Linked DNA regions of Homo sapiens: region 1 is linked to region 2. The links are contacts of gene promoters, found by promoter capture Hi-C in blood cells and fetal thymus (Javierre and others, 2016). All regions are on one chromosome and are shown on one strand. Each heading gives the region's core, a stretch centred on a gene start or on the middle of the fragment in contact. The rest is flanking DNA. Distances are from core to core; before and after follow the strand shown. Region 1 holds the start of RINT1 (RAD50 interactor 1). Region 2 holds the start of DNAJC2 (DnaJ heat shock protein family (Hsp40) member C2).

The links. Contacts are between HindIII fragments. The CHiCAGO score rates a contact against its expected background, and 5 or more counts as called.
Region 1: a fragment that was not itself captured here is called in contact with the fragment with the promoter of DNAJC2 in region 2 in 1 of 17 cell types (naive CD8 T cells); the score reaches 6.2 in naive CD8 T cells.

The regions. Positions count from the first base shown.
Region 1 is chr7:105,531,543-105,538,133 of GRCh38, forward strand. It overlaps RINT1 (RAD50 interactor 1), which reads left to right and starts at 659. Exons shown (of 15, transcript NM_021930.6): 1 at 659-815; 2 at 1,282-1,327; 3 at 5,023-5,207. The coding sequence starts at 774. RefSeq lists enhancers at 277-854, 440-739, 830-1,009, 855-1,431. The HindIII fragment of the contact is 2,711 bases long and covers 3,676-6,386 here.
Region 2 is chr7:103,342,954-103,348,947 of GRCh38, forward strand. It overlaps DNAJC2 (DnaJ heat shock protein family (Hsp40) member C2), which reads right to left and starts at 1,814. Exons shown (of 17, transcript NM_014377.3): 1 at 1,606-1,814. The coding sequence starts at 1,669. PSMC2 (proteasome 26S subunit, ATPase 2) reads left to right here and starts at 4,690. Exons shown (of 12, transcript NM_002803.4): 1 at 4,690-4,828. The coding sequence starts at 4,759. It also overlaps a transcript of PMPCB not described here and the pseudogene RPS29P16. RefSeq lists an enhancer at 1,757-1,996. The HindIII fragment of the contact is 5,590 bases long and covers 1,229-5,994 here.

The sequences.
Region 1 (6,591 bases), core at 3,781-6,280, 2.2 Mb after region 2:
TTGTTATGGTCTCTATGGTACTCCTTCCGTGTTAGTTTGTTTAAGAGGCTGTCAAGTCCACAGGTCCTCTACACAACCCTTGCTGCTAGGTAGCTCCCTTTCCTCCTCCCTGGTAAAAGACAGGGTTTTGGGCGAAACACATGTTAGATGCTCTGTTCTCTTCATTCAGCTCCCAGAACGCTTATAACCACCTCTACACCCTCTAGGCAGGAAATCAGAAGCTCATCTCTAGGGACTCTGACCAACGTTAAAAGAAATATCTAAAGATACTGACATTCATTGGAAACCCCCAACTAAATATTCGAACCAAATAACCCTGCACCGAAGCTCCTAGTCAACAAGCCCCCCACACTCTCAGAACATCTGGATATTGCCTAAAATATAAATTTAAATTATTCATATTGAATTTAAGGCGTTGGGAGAGGGATATCTTAAAGTTCCATCATTAAGAGCTTCAATAAAGTGGAGGGGACTTTTACCGCGGTGGAGTGAGCGAATCCCTTCTCTGGAGCTCCATAGGGGAGGGTGCCCGCTTCCTGAGTGGCCGTTCCGACCTCCGGTCAGGAGGGGGAGGAACAGAGCACGGCCGGCGGCTGCACGGGCAGGGCCTCTCTGGGCTGAGAGGAAGAAACCAGTGAGACATCGAGAGGAAGTCGCTGTGGCACTCAGTCCTACGGCCTCCGAGGCTGGGTAGTGAGTGTGTCGCTGGCCTTAGCCAGACTCCACAGGCCACGCTGGCTGCGAATGGAGCCGAGGACTCGCGCGGAGGCGAGATGCTACCAGCCGGCGAGATCGGCGCCTCTCCTGCAGCCCCGGTGAGACGGCCCTGGCGTCCCTGGGAGGGGACATTGGTGGCCCATTGAGGTGGCACAGACCTCCCGGGGGAGATAGTCCCGGTGCGGTGGCCCTGTAAGCTTGTGAAGGTGCTTCCTGCGGCTTAGATTAGAGGCCCTTGTAAGACCTCCTAGAGGAGGCGGTAGTCCCCGTGAAGTGGCTTTGGCGGCCCTGGTGAGATGACAGATTTCTCTAGGGAGGTGGCTCTAGTGAGCAGGCAAGGTAACTCCAGGTCCTGCGGAGGTGACACACACCTCCTGGGAAGGTGGCGGTGGCACCAGGACAGTGGCACTTTGAGGTACCTGATTCGGACGGCCCTGGTCGCTCAGAAAGTGGGAGAGCGTCTGGAACCTCTCTTGCCTCCAGTGGGTGCCCTTTGGGAGCCCCGTATGCTTTCCATCCACGACTTTAATCTTAATGTGCTTGTCACATCTGTTCTTCTTCTAGTGCTGCTCTGAAAGTGGTGACGAAAGGAAGAACCTCGAGGAGAAAAGTAAGCCAGCTCCAAACACCTTAGCTTTTTCTTCCCGCCCAAACTCAGCCTTCCAGGGTCTGCAATATAGAAAGGTTCTTTGCCTATCTTTTAGATGCAGTACCGTTTTCTGCACAATATGCTTATATGGTAATACTGATGACCATGATACACATATTTTTGTCTTTCTAAAATTGTAAAATATGGGATGCTTTGGAGAAGAGCACTTCCCGATCCATACCTAGTACAGGGACTAGAGTGTTTTCGCTGGAAGTCTGCCTATCATACAGTACTCAGAATAATTGGGGCCTGCCTGTCATTTTAATGAAACATCAACTTACTAAGCATCAGGAATTTGGAGGGGCCCATGATCTAGGACAGACGACCACCACCCTAATTGGGTTCAAAGGAGGCAAATGACAGTTGTTTAGTTCACCTTCAGTAAATTGGCAATTTAAAATTGCTCTGGCAAGAGCACAACGGATAACTTGGGTTCTGGATCTTGGACTGGACAGGAAAGGGGGAAAAGGTCAGTACCACCATTTCCTCCCTAGTACGGGAGTATATGTCAGGGTTGTGGACTTTTGCCATTTTACTTTGATGGCAGGTTATTGCAAATCAAGGGCTCTTTAGGGACCTTTGAAGTGACATTTTTTGGGAGAGGAAGGGGAAAAGCATGTGATAGCTCTGCTATTGGGATTTTTGGTTCTTTTGACTGTGGCAAACAGTTGGGAATGTGTAGCAGTAAGAAAAACGGTGCCCACATTAGCACATGGCCCTTAGGAGTAAGATTTGCCCTTAACATTAGCGGCTGATAGAATCTGCCTCAGAAAGAAGGCTCTGAGCAGTCCATAGCACATGACTGTCATAACTGCCACATCTCAGCTCCTTTTTCTTGAAGGATTTCAGAGTGCCTTGTATCTCTCAGTTAAACCCTTCCCTTTCCATTTTCCACCTTTGCCTCATTCAGATGCCTGGAAAGTAGTCTGATGCCTACTGAGCTGTCATTTTAATAAAATAATAGATGTAGACTATCATATCAAGGACTTTGACCTTGTTCCTCTTTCCACAGCTCAAACTGCTTTGCAGTTAGGAGTGCTCTTTACAAAAAATAGAAAAGGAGACACATAAAAACCTCCCAAACCACCGGTGTGTCATTTTGAAGAATGTCATTTCACTAAGAATGTACTATGCCACATTTGAATGGTTACACATCAAGGGTGTAATTTTTTTTTTTTTTGAGACTTAGTCTCACTCTGTCTCTCAGGCTGGAGTGCAGTGGCGCGATCTCGCCTTACTGCAAGCTCCGCCTCTGAGTTCAAGTAATTCCCCTGCCTCGGCCTCCTCAGTAGCTGGGATTACTGGTGCCCGCCAAACACCCGGCTAATTTTTGTATTTTTAGTAGAGGCAGGGTTTCACCATTTTGGTTAGGCTGGTCTTGAACTCCTGACCTCAGGCAATCCACCGTCCTCGGCCTTCCAAAGTGCTGGGATTATAGGCATGAGCCACTGTGCTCAGTGGGTGTAATTTTTTTTAAAAAATGAAGGTAGAATTTCCTCCCTAAGATACAGCAACTTTAGCATTCACAAAACATTTCCTGCCTCCATTTATCTGCAGATACACCACACAAATCACTTGTTTTATTTAAGATTTAAAAAAGGCATTGTGAGTTCTGTACATAATAGTAGATTATTATACGTTAATATTATATATAATTATATAGTATAATTAATATATAATTTGTATTATATAGTCCCATTTATAACCTTGAGATATAGGCTGGGGCAAATGTTACAATTTGTTTTCTAGTTGGAAAATTGAGGCATAGTGTTATGTTAATATTGCCTCTCCTACCCTCTAAATTGTCAATTTAAAATTGCTCTGGGAAGGCACAATGTATAGCTTGGGTTCTGGATCTTGCACTGAACAGGAAAGGGGGAAAAGGTCAGTACCACCTCCTGATTCTCACAGCATGTGAAAAATCTTTTAATTTAATTCATATAAGTTAAGTAGAACAAAGGAAATTTTGTTTGTTGGGGTGTAGGGGTGGAGACAGGAACATACTCTGTATAAAACATTGGTATATATTCTGTTAATCTTTACATAAATAGTTGACCAATATCTGACATTTACATTTTGCACTTAGGCATATCATTATTTAGATATTAATATTAATAAGCCTAATGTGTATTGGACTTATTAAATGTCACAAAACAGGTAGTTTATTTGCCATGGAAAGAATCTCACTTTATACTATTTAGTGGTTGCATTTGTCATTTTGATTTTTTCCTAGTAATTTGTTCTCTCATATTTTCTTTTTTCTGTTTCTGACAAAGATATCTTTGTACAATGACATCGATGACATTTGAAGCTTAAAAACCTTTTTTTTTTTTTTTTTTGAGGCAGAGTCTCACTCTGTTGCCCAGGCTGGAGTGCAGTGGCGTGATCTCGGCTCACTGCAACCTCCGCCTCCCGGGTTCAAGCGATTCTTCTGCCTCAGCCTCCCGAGTAGCTGGGACTATAAGCGTGCACCGCCATGCCCAGCTAATTTTTGTATTTTTAGTAGAGACAGGTTTTCACCATATTGGCCAGGCTGGTCTCGAACTCCTGACCTTGTGATCTGCCTGCCTCAACCTCCCAAAGTGCTGAGATTACAGGCCTGAGCCACCTCGCCCAGCCAAACCTTTTTTACTTTTTTGTTTGTTTGTTTGTTTGTTTTTAAGAGATGAGGTCTTGCTCTGCTGTCCAGGCTGGAATGTAGTAGTGAGATCATGGCTCACTGCAGCCTCCATCTCCCAGGCTGCTCAAGCAATCCTCCCACCTCAGCCCACCTGAGACTACAGGTGTGTTCCACCATTCCTGGCTAATTTTGTTAGATGAAGTCTTGCTTTGTTGCCTAGGCTGGTCTAGAACTTCTGGGCTCAAGTGATCCTCCTGCCTTGGCCTCCCACAGTGCTGGGATTACAGGTGTGAGCCCCTGCGCCCGGTCTTTTTAAAAACACTTTAAAACAAGAGTCTTCTTTTGGTGTTGCCCTAGACCATACTACTGGTTCCTTACACATTTTGAAAAGGTATTATTCCTTGTCTATTGAAACCTGTGGTTACTGGATCACACTTTAGGAATTTTTCCTTTAATACTTCCCTCAGCTCTTAAGCATTTTGCAGTAGTTGTTTGATAGAGTGCTTTAGAGCTATTCTTCTGGGCATTTGTCTGTGTGTGTTGTTCTTTAAATTATTAACTTTGTTTTGTTTTGGTTTTGTTTTTTGATACAGAGTCTCTGTCGCCCAGGCTGGAGTGCAGTGGCGCTTTGTTTTGGTTTTGTTTTTTGATACAGAGTCTGTCTGTGTCGCCCAGGCTGGAGTGCAGTGGTGTGATCTTGGCTCACTGCAACCTCTGCCTCTTGGGTTCAAGGGATTCTCGTGCCTCAGCCTCCCGAATAGCTGGGACTACAGGCCTGTGCCCCCACGCCTGGCTAATTTTTGTATTTTTAGTAGAGACGGGATTTCGCCGTGTTTGCCAGGCTAGTCTTAAACTCCTGGCCTCAGGTGATGCACCTGCCTCAGCCTCCCAAAGTGCTGGGATCACAGGTGTGAGCCACCGTGCCTGGCAAAATTATTAACTTTTGAAGGCAGATAAACTGCTTTTATATGTTTTATATTTTCTTTAACTCCATAGTACTTAGTGGCGTTGAGTAATTGTTATTCTTTTGTTGTAGGTGACATAAATGTTACAGTTCTTATTGGAAGTAAACAAGTCAGTGAAGGTACAGATAATGGTGATCTCCCTTCTTATGTGTCTGCATTCATAGAAAAGGAAGTTGGAAATGACCTTAAATCTTTAAAGAAACTTGATAAACTCATAGAACAGAGGACAGTAAGTAAAATGCAGTTAGAAGAACAGGTAAGTATTGAAACTCACTGAAATAATTATCAGTGGAATACTTTTAACAATATAATATAAACATAATCTATTATATATAGAATTTTAAAGATATAGAACGTGACAAATAGTCTATTATATACTGTTTAAGAGGATTTAAGAACGTACATTGTATTACCTATTTTACAAATTAGGTAAAAGACAAAGTTCCTACTGATATGGTTTGTCTTCAAAACATAGTGAGACCTAACATTTTACATAGATTTTCATAGAGTGACTTTTTTTTCCTTTCAATCTGTTTCTAGTGAACATACAGTGACTTTTAAATTGCTTTTACAAGCAAATAATTTCATGGCATACAAAAATATATACCATGGTGTAAACACCATCATTTCAATTTTTTTTTTTTTTTTTTTTTTGAGACGGAGTTTTGCTCTTGTTGCCCAGGTTGGAGTACAATGGCGCCATCTTGGCTCACTGCAACCTCTGCCTCCCAGGTTCAAGCAATTCTCCTGCCTTAGCCTCCCATGTAGCTGGGATTACAGGCATGTGTCACCCTGCCCAGCTAATTTTGTATTTTAGGTAGAGATGGGGTTTCATCATGTTGGCAAGGCTGGTCTTGAACTCCTGACCGCAGGTGATCCACCTGCCTTGGCCTCCCATAGTTCCGGGATTACAGATGTGAGCTGCTATACCCGGCCACATTTCAGATTTTAATAAATGTACCCATAGGGAGAAGTATAAAGTGAAAAGAAGTATAACGTAACGGTTATTTCTGTGTGGTTGGTTGACAAGTGATGTATTTAAAAAATATTTTTAGGCCTGGCACGGTGGCTCACACCTGTAATCCCAGCACTTTGGGAGGCCAAGGCAGGTGGATCACCTGAGGTCAGGAGTTTGAGACCAGCCTGACCCACATGGTGAAATCCCGACTCTACTAAAAATACAACAAAAAAAATTAGCCAGGTGTGGTGGCGGGCACCTGTAATCCCAGCTACTCGGGAGGCTGAGGCAGGAGAATCGCTTGAACCCAGGAGGCGGAGTTTGCTGTGAGCTGAGATCATGCCATCGCACTCCAGCCGGGGCAACAAAAGTGACACTCCGTCTCAAAAATATATATTTCTATGTATTTATAGGTTTTTTTTTCTTTTACAATGAACATATCACTTAAAATAATTTTTTAAAAACCCAATGAGTATAAGCTTAAACAAAAAAATAAGTAGGCCCCTCTACTTGGCAATGGTGTGTTTGTCAAAGATAAAACATTTTTTTCTTTTTTTTTGAGACGGAGTCTGACTCTGTCGCCCAGACTGGAGTGCAATGGCGTGATCTCGGCTCACTGCAACCTCTGCCTCCTGGGTTCAAGTGATTCTCCTGCCTCAGCCTCCCGAGTAGCTGGGACTAC
Region 2 (5,994 bases), core at 564-3,063:
GAAGAGCTAGCCTCACCAAAAATAAAAAATCTAAAAACAACTCAAACTATCTTTTTATTTTTTGAGACGGAGTTTTGCTCTTGTTGTCCAGGCTGTAGTGCAATAGCGCAATCTCGGCTCACTGCAACCTCCGCCTCCCGGGTTCAAACGATTCTTCTGCCTCAGCCTCCCAAGTTGCTGGGATTATAGGCGCCCGCCACCACGCCCAGCTACTTTTTTGTATTTTTAGTAGAGACAGGGTTTCACCCTGTTAGCCAGGCTGGTCTCGAACTGCTGACCTCAGGTGATCCACCTGCCTCGGCCTCCCAAAGTGCTGGGATTATAGACGTGAGCCACCGCACCCAGACAACTCAAACTGTCTTAATTATTAAAATCTTGAATATAGCTCTTAAAAATTTTAAGAATTCACTAACAAGAATTTGTCCTGAAAGCAATTTTCCAAGCAGCAAATGGGAATTTACTAATGCAGCTAAGCTGTAGTGGAACAAGCTCTCAATCTGAAACCAGACACTCTGGGTTTTAGACTAGGTCTGACAGTGGCTATGTGACCTGAAATGAATCAGGATGTCTTCACCTGTAAAATGGGAACAATACCTATTTATCTCATTCAGTTCCTAGGAAGCTTGAATGAGACCACAGAAACTCTCTGAAATTACAAACTTGTAGTAAAGGTATCATCTATTCCTGGGAAGTGGGGGTAAATCACTGTACATGTGTATACTAGCAATTCAAAAAAGGAAAATCCCTGAACAACTTATTTTAAGATTTCCTCCACCTTACACAGGAGAGGATTAAAACACTGTCAAAAAGGTACTACCTGTGTAGTATGGGTGTGTGGCTTTTAAGAACACTGCCTTTTAAGCCTTTTGCTCTAGTTGTAAGAGGCACACGGAGACACATAAATGCAACACGTGCCATGGGTTATGTTCAAAATCACATTCAACAAGCGCCTATGTGACTGGCTATGGGAATTACTGTAGATCACTGGACCTGAAGACTCTTAAGTTTACAATACTCATGACTGTCCTGGGCCATAAAACTAAAACCTACAGCAGCAGGACAAGTTTCACTTGTAATAACTGCCTTTCAAAGTCTACGCGGATCTTTTCAGCAGCACAGTCTTTGAACACCGAGTATGAGGAGCGGTGTCTGAGTTGTGACATTTAAAAAACAAGGCCGGAGCAAACGTAGAGAGGGAGAAAGTTGTTTAAGAGAGCGCCAGTAGCAAAGCTTTGTACGACCCCAGGCACGTGGGGTGCTCGCTGCGCGTAGTCTTTCCACCGTAGGCAAGGAGATGCTTATGAGAACCTTTCTGGGGTGCTGGGGGGTTCCGTCCCGAAATGCTCAGCCCAATCCATGAGTCAGCAGCGGCGAGAGGAGGAAGCAACGGTAGGAGCAAAAGGAAGGCACCCCTCACCCTCCTTCCTTCTAATCTAGGGTAGGATTACTTTAAAACACGGAGCAAAAAGGCACTCGTCACGGCCCCATACGGCCCCGGGGCTAGTCGCCAGGGTCAAGGGTAGAGAGAGCCCAGGGTTGCCGAGGCGGAGGACTGAGGCAGGGGCAGCTGAGGTGAGAAGGAACCGAGGTTGGGTGGGCACTTACCAGAGGTCAGAGCGTGGGTGATGGCGGTGCCCCGGCCGTCCGCGGCGCTTGGCAGAAGCAGCATGATGGCGCCGGGTCTAGCCCGGTGGGCGCAGCGGCTCACGTCCCGGGCGGAGGGCGCTTAGGGTCCCCTCCAGCTCTACCTCTCACTCCGAGCCTCGCGCCTTGGCTCTAAGACGCCCAGGAACCGGCGCATGGAGACGACCAGTAAGCACTTCCGGGATGGATCTTTCGTGGTGTGGAGGCCAGTCTCACACCCTCCCACCCCCGCCAACGTGTGCGGTAACCTAGTTCTATACTGACTGAGATCCGGCTGGAGACCAAGTCGCACGAGAGAATGGTTCCTAGGCGCATCAGTTTTCCTGTAAAAAGGATTATATTCCACGTCCCAGTGCAATACATAGAACATAACCTTTAAAAGCAGTTCTTTTTATATTATCTTTAAGTTCTTACTGCTTTATGTATTAATCTGAACCTAATCAGTGATTTTCCCAGGAGCGCTATACTTTTAAGTAAAAAATGAAAATACCTGTATGAACCAGTATCGACGACTAGTATATACATTTGCGGAGAATTACGTACGTGTATTTGTGATACATTTGTGTTTAACTTGATGATGATAATAGCAGCTAATATTTGTCGTGCTATTACTAATTTACCTGCATTATATCTTTTAATACTCGCTTGGAGAAGAAACCTCTCTCTAGTGTGTTAGATTGTATTCCAAGGCCAGCAATATTTTTACCTTGTTCTAATGAAGTTTTTATTCAAGATATTCCCAATTATAGGACTCTGGGACTTAATTTTTTAATGTATAATAAAATCAATTGTATTCCTACTATATGCTTCCTTCTAAGACTGCAGTCAAAAGCAAAAACTAGCAAAAACAAACAGTGGGTAAAGGCTCACCCCCAACAGCAGTATCTGAAACAGGTTCAATAAAATAAACTTGATATGCCACTCTTTAGCAAGGACCACCAGAAATTAGTAAATTAGAAAATAACTTACTAATTTCATTATATTTTCACAATTAAAGTTTTTAAATATATTATATATATATATATGTATATTTTTTTTTGTAGAGACAGGGTCTCACTATGTTGCCCAAGGTGGTCTTGAACTCCTGGCCTCAAGGGATCCTCCTGCCTCAGTCTCCCAAAACTCTGGGATTAGAGGCGTGAGTCACTGTGCCAGGCCAATTAAATACATTTAATTGGTCTGTATATCTGCTGCATGATAAAATTGTCACTTCAAAACTGACTTTTCAAAAATTGAACTAAGGGAGGCTGAGGTGGGAAGATCGTTGAGGCCGGGAGGTGGAGGTTGCAGTGAGCTGAGATCACACCATTGCGCTCCAGCCTGGGTAACAGTGAGACCCCGTCTTTAAAAAAAAAAAAATTGAACTAATCTTCTGCCCCAAAACCTCTTCCTGATCCCTACTAATGCAACCACTGTTAAAACATGCTCCAAGGTGCAAAGTAACCTGACTCCACTTTCTTCATATTAATATATTTTTTTCCTCACACCTCCTCCCATTCAATTTTACCATTAACTCTAACATGGGTTTTTGTTTTTTTGTTGTTTTCTTTTCTGAGACAGAGGCTTGCTCTGTCGCCCAGGCTGGAGTGCAGTGGCCTGATTTCGGCTCACTGCAATCTCTGCCTCCCAGGTTCAAGCGATTCTCCTGCCTCAGCCTCCCGAGTAGCTGGGATTACAGGTGCGTGCCACCACGCCCAGCTAATTTCTGTATTTGTAGTAGAGACGGGGTTTAGCCATGTTGGCCAGGCTGGTCTCCAACTCCTGACCTCATGATCTGCCTGCTTCAGCCTCCCAAAGTGCTGGAATTACAGGGGTGAGCCACGGTGCCCGGTCGGGGGTTTTGTTTTTTAAAAAAATTGTGCTAAAACACACATAACATGAAATTTACGATCTTCACCGTTTTTAAGTTTACAGTAATGTTAAGTACATTCACATTATTGTGTAACCACCCTACAAAACTATTTTTATCTTACAAAACTGAAACTCTATACCCATTTAATCTCTTACAAAACTGAAACTATGCCAGTGGAAAAAACTGTCCACTGGAAACCATCCTTCTACTTTGTCTTTAGGAATTTGACACCTCTAGGTACTTCATATTTGTGGAATCATATAGTATTTGTCTTTTTTGTGACTGACTTATTCACTTAGCATAATGTCTTCAAGGTTCATCTGTGTTGTAGCTTATACTAGAATTTCATTCCTTTTTAAGGCTGAATAATGTGTGTGTGTGTGTGTGTGTGTGTGTGTGTGTGTGAGCGCGCATGCGTGTATCACATTTTGTTTATCCATTCATATGTAGATGGACACTTGGGTTGCTTCCACCTTATGGGTATCATGACTAATGCTGCTTATGGACATGGATGTACAAATATCTCTTTGAGATCCTGTTTTCAGTTCTTTTGGATACACATCCAGAAATCGAATTGCTAGGTGGCATGGTAATTATTTTTAATTTCCTGAGGAATCAATCATACTGTTTCCCACAGCAGTTGCACCATTTTATCATTTTACATTTACATCAACAGTGCACCAGGATTCCATTTTATCCAGCAGCACATGCAAGGGTTGGCTGGACCCAAGGGTCATCCTTTCCAACACTTATTTTCTGTTTTGTTTTTGCTTGTTTTTTAATAATAGCTATCTTAATAGGTATGTGGTGGCATCCAACTGTGGTTTTGATTTGCATTTCCTAACAGTGATGTTGTCCATTTGTATATCTTCTTTGGAGCAATGTTTATTCAGGTTATTTGCCCACTTAAAAAATCAGGTTGTTTTCTTGTGTGGTAGGAGTTCTTTATATATTCTGGATATTAACTCTTTACCAGAAATAGATTACCTTCACTATATTTGTAGATGTGGCCACTACTTATTGTGTCTAATATGCCAGGCGTTTTACAAACACTGTAAAGTTTCCTTCTCACAGGTAATCAGTCCAAAAACCAGCGTGCCAAAGCGTTTCCCCAGGGCTCTGTCCGGACTCTGAAGCACTGCATAAAGGGGTCTGTCTGAGCCCAATTTACTTCCGGTGGGGAAGGGAAAGGGAAGACACCACCGGAAGCAAGGAAGGTGCTGTGTAATCATTAAGGAGCGGAGGCTTTTGGAGCTGCTAAAATGCCGGATTACCTCGGTGCCGATCAGCGGAAGACCAAAGAGGATGAGAAGGACGACAAGCCCATCCGAGGTCAGTTGACATGGGCCGGAGCTCGGAGCTGGGGCGGGACTGGAGCGGAGCTGCCTTGGCACTGGAGAGGAGCTGGATTCCCGCTCCTGGCTCTGTGCTCTGGCCCTTTTGTGCCCCTAGTAATTTAGTCTGGACACCGGCCGGATTAACTTGCCTGCCTTCTCAGTCTCCCTCATCCACTACAAGTTCTGTATTATCTGCTGATGGAAATTTTTATTCATTCTCAGCTCTCGGGTCTTGAAGAAGTCACGCACCCTGCTTGGCCTAATAGGCCTTGAAAAGTTCTGCCTGGCGGTGCTCGGTCACCTGATCCTCTTTCCTCTCCTCCTCCTTCCCCCTGTGACAGCCGGGAGCTGTCACTGTGTAGCCACAATTCTGAGACATAATTTTCTTAAAAAAATTATTTGACCAGATAATACATTCACAGGGTTCACAATTCAAGAGGCAGAAAAGATATCTTTGAAAAGCCTCGCATCCTTGGCCCCAGCCACCAACTTCTCCACAGAGGCAACTAATGTTGCTATTTTGCATATCTTTTTAGACATATTCTATACATATACAAGCAAGTGTGCTTATCTATTCCTTTTTTTTAACACAAATGTAGCATGCTGTACATACTTCAACATCTTGATTTTTAAAAAATTAATATATATTAGAGATACTTTCCTATCATGTAGTCACTTCCTCTGCATCTGCATAGTATCCTGTATTATGCGTATACAGTAATGTATTTATTATTGATGGACGTGTAGATTTTTCCAATTTGTTGCTGTTATAAAACAATGAGTACCTTTTACCTCGTTGCACTCTGAGACCAAGATGGGTCACCAGAAGCTATGCTGGAGCCACCCGCGAAAATTCGGCCAGGGTTCTCGCTCTTGTCGCGTCTGTTCAAACCGGCACGGTCTGATCCGGAAATATGGCCTCAATATGTGCCGCCAGTGTTTTTGTCAGTATGGGAAGGATATTGGTTTCATTAAGTTGGACTAAGTGATCTTCCTTCAAAGGATTATCCAAGGCATCTACCCAATGGAAAACCATGATAGTTCTTTGTACATAAAATAAACATTTAAAAAAATGAATAATCTTGTTTATGTAACTTTTACCAAGTGCACAAGTACAAATTGTAGGATAAATTCTAGAAGTGGAGTTCTGATTTTGTAAGT